2 separate regions of the Homo sapiens genome follow, and region 1 is linked to region 2. The links are contacts of gene promoters, found by promoter capture Hi-C in blood cells and fetal thymus (Javierre and others, 2016). All regions are on one chromosome and are shown on one strand. The core of a region is centred on a gene start or on the middle of the fragment in contact, and the rest is flanking DNA. Distances in the headings are between cores, read along the strand shown.

Region 1 (4,629 bases), core at 62-2,561, 270 kb before region 2:
ACTACCTAGCCTCCCAGTAACAAATGAGGATAAGGATAGTACCTATCCTCATATGGGTTAAATACACATGTATAGAGTGTTTCGAACAGTGTCTCACACATGGTAAACACACAATGGAGGGTAGGTGCTCTTATTTTCATATGCTTTATGCTATATATGCATTGTTATGGGCTGAATATGTCCTCCCCAAATTCCCAAGTTGAAGCCCTAACCTGCAGTACTTCAGAACATGACTATATTTAGAGACAGGGCCTTTAAAGAGGTAATTAAGATAAAATGGAATTGTTATGGTGAGCTGTAATCCAATAGGACTGGTGTCTACATAGAAGAGGAGATGAAGACACAGATAACATGCACAGAAGGACAACCATATGAAGGCACAGCAAGAAGACAGCTGTCTTAGCCTGCTCAGGCTGCTATAACAAAATACCATAAACTGGATATCTTACAAAAAACACACAATTATTTCTCAAAGTTTGGAGGCCAGAAAGTCCAAGACCATGGTGCTGGCAGATTCAGTGTCTGCTAAGGACCCATTTCCTCACAGGCGGTGCCTTCTTGCCCTGTCTTCACATGGTGGAAAGCGTGAGTGGTCGCTTTGGGCCCATCTTATAAGGGAACAAATCTCACTCGTGAGGGCTTTGACTTCATGACATAATCACTCCCAAAGTCCCCATTTCCTTATGTCATTACCTTAAGGTTAGGATTTCAACATATGCATTTGTGGGGACATAAATACTCAGACCATAGCAGCAGTCATCTGCAAGTCAAGAAGAGAGACCACGGAAAAAAGCAAACCTGTCAACACCTTTAGCTTGGACTTCTTGCCTCCAGAATTATAAGAAAATAATTTTCTGCAGCTTAAGCCACCCAGTTTGTGGTACTTTGTTACGGCAGCTCTAGCAAATACATGCATCAAAATTAAATATGGACAGAAAAAAATAAATATGATGAGAAACTAGTGGTTTGTCATTACATTTTCTCTCTCTTTTTTTTTTTTTTTTTTTTGAGATGTAGTCTTGCTCTGTCGCCCAGGCTGGAGTGCAGTGGTGCAGTCTCGGCTCACTGCAACTCCGCCTCCCGGGTTCACGCCATTCTCCTGCCTCAGCCTCCCAAGTAGCTGGGACTACAGGCGCCCACCACCATGCCCGGCTAATTTTTTTTTGCATTTTTAGTAGAGACGGGGTTTCACCGTGTTAGTCAGGATGGTCTCGATCTCCTGACCCTGTGATCCATCCGCCTTGGCCTCCCAAAGTGCTGGAATTACAGGTGTGAACCACCGTGCCTGGCTGTCATTACATTTTCTAACAGCATTAAACTGGTAGGATATCTCTAAGAGATTTTAAATTTTGTGAAGCTAAAATCACAGTAGCTAAGAGCACTGTGCTGTACAGTAGTTTGGCTCTACTACTTCCTAGTTATGTAACTTCAGGCAAGTCAAGCCTGAAGACATATACAAAGGCTGTATAAGCTCCAGTGCTTCGTATGTGTGTTAGGACTAAATGAGATGTGGAGCCCAATGTCAGGCACATAATAAGCATTCAGTTAATAACATTCCATCTGTCTGTCTAGCTATCTATCTAAATGTCTTCTGAGAAGGGTAGGGACAGTGGAGTAACATTTTCTTAGCACCTAACATTTTCTTCTTTCTTTTTTAAACCAGATAAAGAAACTGAGGCCCATAGAAACAAAGCAATTTTGCTAAGGTTATACAGAGAGTATGGTGGAGCTGGATTCACAGGTGGGTTTGCCTGACTCCAAGACGCATTCTCTTTCCACTATACCACATTACCTTTCTCATTAATTTCCTAAAACCAATGGGTTCTAGTATGCTGTTCACAGTACACTCACGCAATACCTGCTTCCTAGTACATACATCTATTTTATAGGCGAGGGATGATAGAAGCCAGGGCATTAGAAAATTAAATATCTTTTTTTATTATTATTTTTTAAGACAGAGTCTCACTCTGTCGCCCAGGCTGGAGTGCAGTGGCACGATCTCGGCTCACTGGAAGCTCCGCCTCCCGGATTCACGCCATTCTCTTGCCCCAGCCTCCTGAGTAGCTGGGACTACAGGCGCCTGCCACCGCGCTCGGCTAATTTTTTGTATTTTTAGTAGAGACCGGGTTTCACTGTGGTCTCGATCTCCTGACCTCGTGATCCCACCCGCCTCGGCCTCCCACAGTGCTGGGATTACAGGCGTGAGCCACCGCGCCTGGCTAAATATCATTTTAAAAGAGTCTTCCAATACATGAAAGAAAAACAAAAAGAAAAAAAAATAAAGCTCAAACGTTACACAGAGGAAATTCTTGCTTTGGTAATTCTAAAGAAATTGTGACAATTATGGTTTAATGACCTCGTAAGAATGTGGCATAAGTGATTTATATTCACACTGCGGTGTCCTGATTTGAACTAACAGACTACAGTTTCTAAAGAATAACTTGTGCAGCTATTGGACCAACCTCAATGTCTAATGTTAGCACAAAACTTGCTCCAGAAGTACTTAATCCCAGTTAAAGAAGCAAAGTGTGTTCTTAATTGCTAAATAATAGCTCTCTATTTCATTTTGTAACTTTTCCACACCCCAAGTCGGCAATCACAGAACAGCTACCTATGGAGTTATTTTAAGATATCCGAACAAAGCATTTTTCCAACTAGTTTCTTTAACAAAACAAACAAATAAACAAAACATGAAGGTAACCATTTCTTGAATCATCTGATTTTTATTAAATTACCTCCCAGAAAATGTTTAATTCCTTCATGTGAGCTGTAAACTCACATATTTATTTCATTTTTGTTAAAAACAGAGTGGCTTAAAGAGGATGACACCATATGCAATACCAGTTTCTAAATGTCTCAATGAGGATGACCACATACACATTTCTACCACTTCAATTATTCCTAAGCAAGTCTTTTCTAAGTAGAGCTAAGCTGGTTGCTGTGAACTACTTTGCTCCAGCAAGTATACTGACAGGAGCATAGTGTGCAATTATATTTAGGTATTTGGGCTTGAAATGTGAAACCCCCTATGTTCAAAAACTCTTTAATCCATTGGAAATATTTTAAATGCCTAGTGTAAATCACAATGCAGTTCACTGACAGTTCCCTAGATTGTTATTGGCAACAGCATGAAAGAGCAAAAGATTGAAAATTGTTTTTTAAAATATTTGCATCTAAAAGAACATAGAGCATAGTTCGAGGCAAATAAACAAGTAGGAAGGCTTTTCTTCCTCCTCTTGCCCAAGTTCAGAGGCAGTAACACTCTGGAAAGGCTACCAAGTTATGACAAAGGGTCTGAAAATCCACGTATTCTCCAATAACAGATTGAAGGTTGCATAAAAAAAGGGCCCATGGAGGAATAGGAAAAGGAGAGAGAGCAGCTCGAAGCAGAGATGGGGAGGAGGTGGGGACACAAAGCACTGTCTGATACCATTCTCATCAACCAGATGTAGGAGGGAGCAAAGCTGGGATACTATCCCTGTTCTATTCTAACTCCAGCACTGAGTTACGATGCCCTCAAAGAAACAATTAAACCACTATATGGAAAATGACAATATTTCACCTGAATTTCTGTGATTTGAGATCCCTCAAAATGAGAGGGAGAGTTGGGAGCGTTTCTCAATAAAGCAGGCAGTTAAATTACATTATTTCCTAAGCCAAGACAATATCAAATTGAAAAAGAATCAGTAGAATTTCCAAACAAGGTGGCACAGTAAATTCATGTTTCAGCTTATCTTATATGCTCTAAACACATGGTAATGAGAGATAAAACAGAAAAAAAGAAAACTAAAAGGCCATTGTTGGGTTTAAAAAACAAAACTAACATCTTTGTGGACCAGAAACACAATAGAAATGCAAAGCAGTAAGCTGGGCTAGAGCTGTAGTCGATCAGGGTCTGGGTCTTGAGGCAGCTAGTGGCAACTGGAAACTCAGCTCTTGTGGAATACACAGACTAAAATGCTCTGCTAAAGATGAAGACCAATGCCAGCCATGTTACTGGAAGCCAGAAACTGGGGCATGACTGAGGTGATCAGCCTTCCTGGTTTTCCTAGGACTCTTCCTGTTTTAGCACTGATCATCCCAAATCCCAAGAAACCCTTTAGTTCCAGGCAAACAGTGGTTTGTCACCTGGTTTTCCCCAGTCTCATGAAAGGAGGCTAAATTAAACTGCTTCTGATTCTGCCTGGGGCTGTGCATTTATGGGAAGCTTTGGACCCAAGAGGGCAAAATGACAAAAGAAAAACATCACTACAGCAACTGAGCTGAGCTAACAGCTGGTTCAGTTACTGAATTGGCCATATTCCGGATATCAGTAAGGAGTAGGAGCCCTCTAAAGCCATTTTAAGAACTGGCTCTGGACTGGGATATGGAATGAGGAAAAGGGCAGATAGAAATATTCATCAAACTTGGAGACAGGCCAAGAAAGGGTGACAACAAAAATATCTCCCACTCAAAGTGATTATGCTAATCAAAATCCTAAAACTTATAAAGAAGTAAATGCTAAAAAGACAGAATCAGGCCGGGCACGGTGGCTCACGCCTGTAATCCCAGCACTTTGCGAGGCCAAGGCAGGCGGATCATGAGGCCAGGAGATTGAGACCATCCTGGACATCGTGGTGAAACACCATC
Region 2 (4,422 bases), core at 582-3,081:
TCATTGGACATTTAAAGAAAAAAATGTTTCCAATCAGTCTACATTTCCAGAATAACTGATTCTAATTGCCCTGCTCTGCTCTAAATGCATGGGGTGCGCCCCCTGCCCAACTCGTAACAGTCCAAGACCACGGACCACTATGGGCCCAGGTGCACAGCAAGCACCTCGTACTTCGAGAGAAGCCTGAGCACAGAATCTAATCAAATTAGTTCATGTCTTCAAAGGATTTACAACAGGACCGGACAAGTCAGTGACGACTCACCAAAAGTCTGAAGTGATTTCTTTCTTCACCCCTCCCCACCGCCCCCAATCAAAATACTCTAAGAAACAACTGTGGCTCAGAGTCCCTGAGATGGTAAGTGACCACACATGACTCTTGGGAGGACTCATCCTCTCAACTCCCCCAGGATCATAATTATCAAGTGATAAGGAGGAGGTTTCCGAAAAGTGAATTGAGTGGCGACCCAGGGGTTTGGCAAAAGGCGCCTCTAGGCTTGCCCTTTGCTCCAAGAAAAACATTTAAGAATCTAAAGGTTGGTTTTATTAATAAATAGGATGGTGGGCAGAGTAAAAGACATATTTCTGGCTCTATCACTTAACCAGCTGTGTGATCCAGAAAGTCACTTTCCCCTCCGGGCCTATTTCCTTATCTGCAAAATTAAGCGGTTGGCTGAATTTGGTCAGATCACCAGGAAGAAATTCCAGAAAAGTAGTTTTTCTGTGTAATAATTTGGGGGTTGAGTGGGTGGGTGCGGAGAGCAGCGGCCAAAGACCTGGTGAACCCCTCTTGCAACCTTCCCATCCGACGAAGGAGACGTAGGAAGGCTTGCCGGGCCGGGCGCCGTGGCTCACGCCGGTAATCCCAATACTTTGGGAGGCCGAGGTGGGCGGATCACCTGAGGTCAGGAGTTTGAAACCAGCCTGGCCAACATGGCGAAGCCCCGTCTCTACTAAAAATACAAAAATTAGCCGGGCTTAGTGGCAGGCGCCTGTAATCCCAGCTACTCGGGAGGCTGACGCAGGAGAATCGCTTGAACCCTGGGGGCAGAGGTTGCAGTGAGCCGAGATCGCACCACTGCACTCCAGCCTGGGCAACAGAGCGAGACTCCGTCAAAAAAAAAAAAAAAAAAAGCTTGCTGGAGCTGAAAGACGTATTCAGAAAATCTATTTCCTCCAAGATTAGAATTGTGCCCATTTTCTAGATGATGAAACTGAGGCCCAGTCAGATTAGGTAACGCGCCCAAGGTCAGTTTGCAAGTGGCGAAGGCAAGACTCGAACGCCCCGGCCTGGGAGTGTTGCAGCCCCGGCTCTCACCAGCCCCAGGAAGGAGGCACACAGCATCAAGGTGGTGAACCACCGCAGCTTGCTCCCGGTCCCACCGCTCTGCCAGGAGACCACCACCACCTCCGGCTCCGGCTCATTCTCCGCCGGGGCCTCCGCCTGCAGGAGCCGCTGCCCCGCAGCCGGGGGCCCGGCCCCACGGAGCTCCACCTCTAACTCCAGCTCGGCGGCTCCGGAGAAGTCGTCTTGCTGCCGCCGCGCTTCTCAGCAGAACTTCTGGAGCTCCGAGAAGAGCACTGGCCCCGACCCCAGGCACGGGTGTCCCTCCGGGCGCCACCTCCCAGCGGACCGCCCGGAACCGGGGCAGAGAAGAGGAACTTCGGCACGCCGCAGGTGTTCGTGGCAAAAGACGCTCGCTCTCCAGCAAGCAGGCGCATGCGCGGGTCACGTGGCGGAAATGTGGCCTCTCGCCAACCGCTATCGTGCCTCAAGCCGGAAGTTGATATGGTTGCCTAGGAGACCGGACGTAGCTCTCTAGCCTAGGCATCATACTTAGCTGAGCTCACAGAGGCTGGCGGACGTGCGCCCCATGGCGGAGCGAGCTGAAGTTGCAGCCTGGGACCAGGGAAATCAAGAGGTAAAAATGCGGCCAAACCATTATGAGGAAAAGGGGCCAAGAATTACACTGTAGCGCCTCGCGCCGGCTCCCCGGTCTCCTGGGGAGCGAAGGGAGCCTGAAGAGCTGGTCCTTATACAGCTTTCTGAAATCCCTGAGATCTGTCAATGAATCGCGCATCTTTCACTCCACAAGTATTTGTTGAACGTCATTGTGTAAGTTATCACGTATATTATCTCAACCCTCACAACACTCCAAATTCCACGTTATCCCCGTTGTACAGATAGAAAGATTAAGTCATAGAAAATAATTAACAATCTGCCCAAGCTCAGTCATCGAATTAGTGGCCGTATATAAACAGTGTAACAGTAGCTCAAGAAAGAAATCGGGATCCAAAGCTGTGGTTTCAAACACAATTCCTGAAATAATTCCAATTCCTGAAATAATTCCATCGTTGTAAAGAAGTGGAGCGTGGCATCGATTTGAGGAATTTTTTTTATATACTTTAAGTTTTAGGGTACATGTGCACAACGTGCAGGTTAGTTACATATGTATACATGTGCCATGTTGGTGTGCTGCACCCATTAACTCGTCATTTAACATTAGGTATATCTCCTAATGCTATCCCTCCCCCCTGATTTGAGGAATTGTTTTCCTTTTGCTCTTTAACAAAGCGTACCACAGCCTCAAAATGTTATATACTTTTCTTTGTGGTCTATTTGAAATGTTCTTTTCCACCTGATTCTTCCAACTTTCATCCACTTAGGCTCCCAGACTACAAACCTTAGTCTCATCATCCCTTGCAACCCGTCTCTCCAGACTTATTCGTTTAGTCATTAAGTCTTCCCCCCACCCGCACCCCCACTTTTTTTTTTGTTTGTTTGTTTTCTTTTTTGAGACAGAGCCTATGTCGCCCGGGCTGGAGTGTTGTGGCGCTTTTTGGTAGAGACGAGTTTTCACCATGTCGGCCAGGCTGGTCTCGAACTCCTGACCTCAAGTGATTCGCCTGCCTTTGGCCTTCCAAAGTGCTGAGATTACAGGTATGAGCCACCATGCCCCGCCAAGCATTTCTTTTTTATTTATTTATTTATTTATTTATTTATTTATTTATTTATTTATTTGAGACGGAATCTCGCTCTGTCGCCCAGGCTGGAGTGCAATGGTGCGATCTCGGCTCACTGCAACCTCTGCCTCCTAGGTTCAAGCGATTCTCCTGCGTCAGCCTCCTGAGTAGCCGGGATTACAGGCGCGTGCCACCACGCACGGCTAATTTTTTTATTTAGTAGAGACGGGGTTTCACCATGTTGGTCAGGCTGGTCTCGAACTCCTGACCTCATGATCCGACCGCCTCGGCCTCCCAAAGTGCTGGGATTACAGGCGTGGGCCACCGCGCCCGGCCCGCCAAGCATTTATTTTAGAGCAGGTCAGCTGGCATTCCTTCATATGAGAATGTCTTTATTTCACTTTGATTCCTGAAAATATTTTCACTGAAAATAGAGTTCTGGGCTAACCGTTATTTCCTTTCAGCACAGAAAGATGAGATTTCTATTCGAGTTTTAGCTACCCATGCCACCCAACAGTTCCCAGCTGGGGTCTCTCCTCAGGACAAACCACAAGAAAAGAAGAAAAAAGCCAGGAAATTCATCCCCTTGCAGGTTTCTAAGTTTTGACTCCCTACCTCAATTCTTTATTTACTTTTCAGAGGCGGCAGGTAGTTGCCATTTGTATTTTGTCATGAGTCTTTCAGTCGTAATCAGTGAGAGAGGGGCTGAAGTAGACTAATGACGCCAAACCAGGACTTTTCTACCTATCTTTGGAGAATCCATGTTAAAACAAACAAACAAACAAACAAACAAACAAAACCTACTTTGGTAGGTAGTCTTTTCTCACCTGCCTTTCAGCCTTGAGGCTGGTTTAGTTTCACAACTATATAGTTGTGCTGCTCCTAAATCTTGTCACAGGTTTTACCTCGTGTTACAGTTCTTTTAGCACTTATCTTCAGTTCCTTAGTAGATTATAAACTCAATGAGATTGAAACTATGGATGTTATATGTCTCTCCCCTAACATTGTATTACATACTTAGTAGCTATTACCTAACTGAATTGATTAATTACCTAACTGAATTGAGGTTCAGTAAAGCCATTTTTAAATTAAATATTTTAATTCACCCTGATTAAATGTAAAAAAAAAAAAAAGAAAAAGCCTTCTCTAAATGGAAAGATCTACTTTCTGATTCTTCATTCCCCACTTCACTCTTGAAAGCAGCAGTATATTTTTTCCAGTTGCCTCCAGAGGTCACCCACCACCTTTGAGAAAAAAAAAAAAAAAAAAAAAAGCATAAACTACAGCATTGCTTCATGCAGATTTCTCTTAGATCAATAGTGAGGATCAAGTTTTTTCTTGAGAGGCAATTTCAGAGAAATAAAGTGTCTATGAGCCACATTTTCTACTGAAAATAAATATAGCTTTATTGATTCTCTTAAAAAATAAGTATTTTACAATGTATATGGCTTAATTTATCTA

Evidence for each region. The method cuts DNA at HindIII sites, captures the fragments that hold promoters and counts their contacts. A CHiCAGO score of 5 or more calls a contact.
Region 1: a fragment that was not itself captured here is called in contact with the fragment with the promoter of SLC60A2-DT in region 2 in 1 of 17 cell types (neutrophils); the score reaches 5.5 in neutrophils.

The regions. Positions count from the first base shown.
Region 1 is chr6:111,523,271-111,527,899 of GRCh38, reverse strand. It overlaps LOC107986522 (a long non-coding RNA gene), which reads left to right. Exons shown (of 2, transcript XR_001743809.2): 2 at 1,664-1,975. It also overlaps TRAF3IP2-AS1. Among named protein-coding and RNA genes, the nearest start is that of REV3L, 42 kb to the right of the region's middle. RefSeq lists an enhancer at 3,446-3,615. The HindIII fragment of the contact is 5,796 bases long and covers 1-4,209 here.
Region 2 is chr6:111,256,621-111,261,042 of GRCh38, reverse strand. It overlaps SLC60A2-DT (SLC60A2 divergent transcript), which reads left to right and starts at 1,831. Exons shown (of 3, transcript XR_001743807.2): 1 at 1,831-1,919. SLC60A2 (solute carrier family 60 member 2) reads right to left here and starts at 1,704. Exons shown (of 4, transcript NM_153369.4): 1 at 1,316-1,704. The coding sequence starts at 1,342. LOC124901378 (a long non-coding RNA gene) reads right to left here. Exons shown (of 2, transcript XR_007059708.1): 2 at 3,333-4,205. RefSeq lists enhancers at 1,595-1,674, 1,995-2,054. The HindIII fragment of the contact is 14,878 bases long and covers 1,135-4,422 here.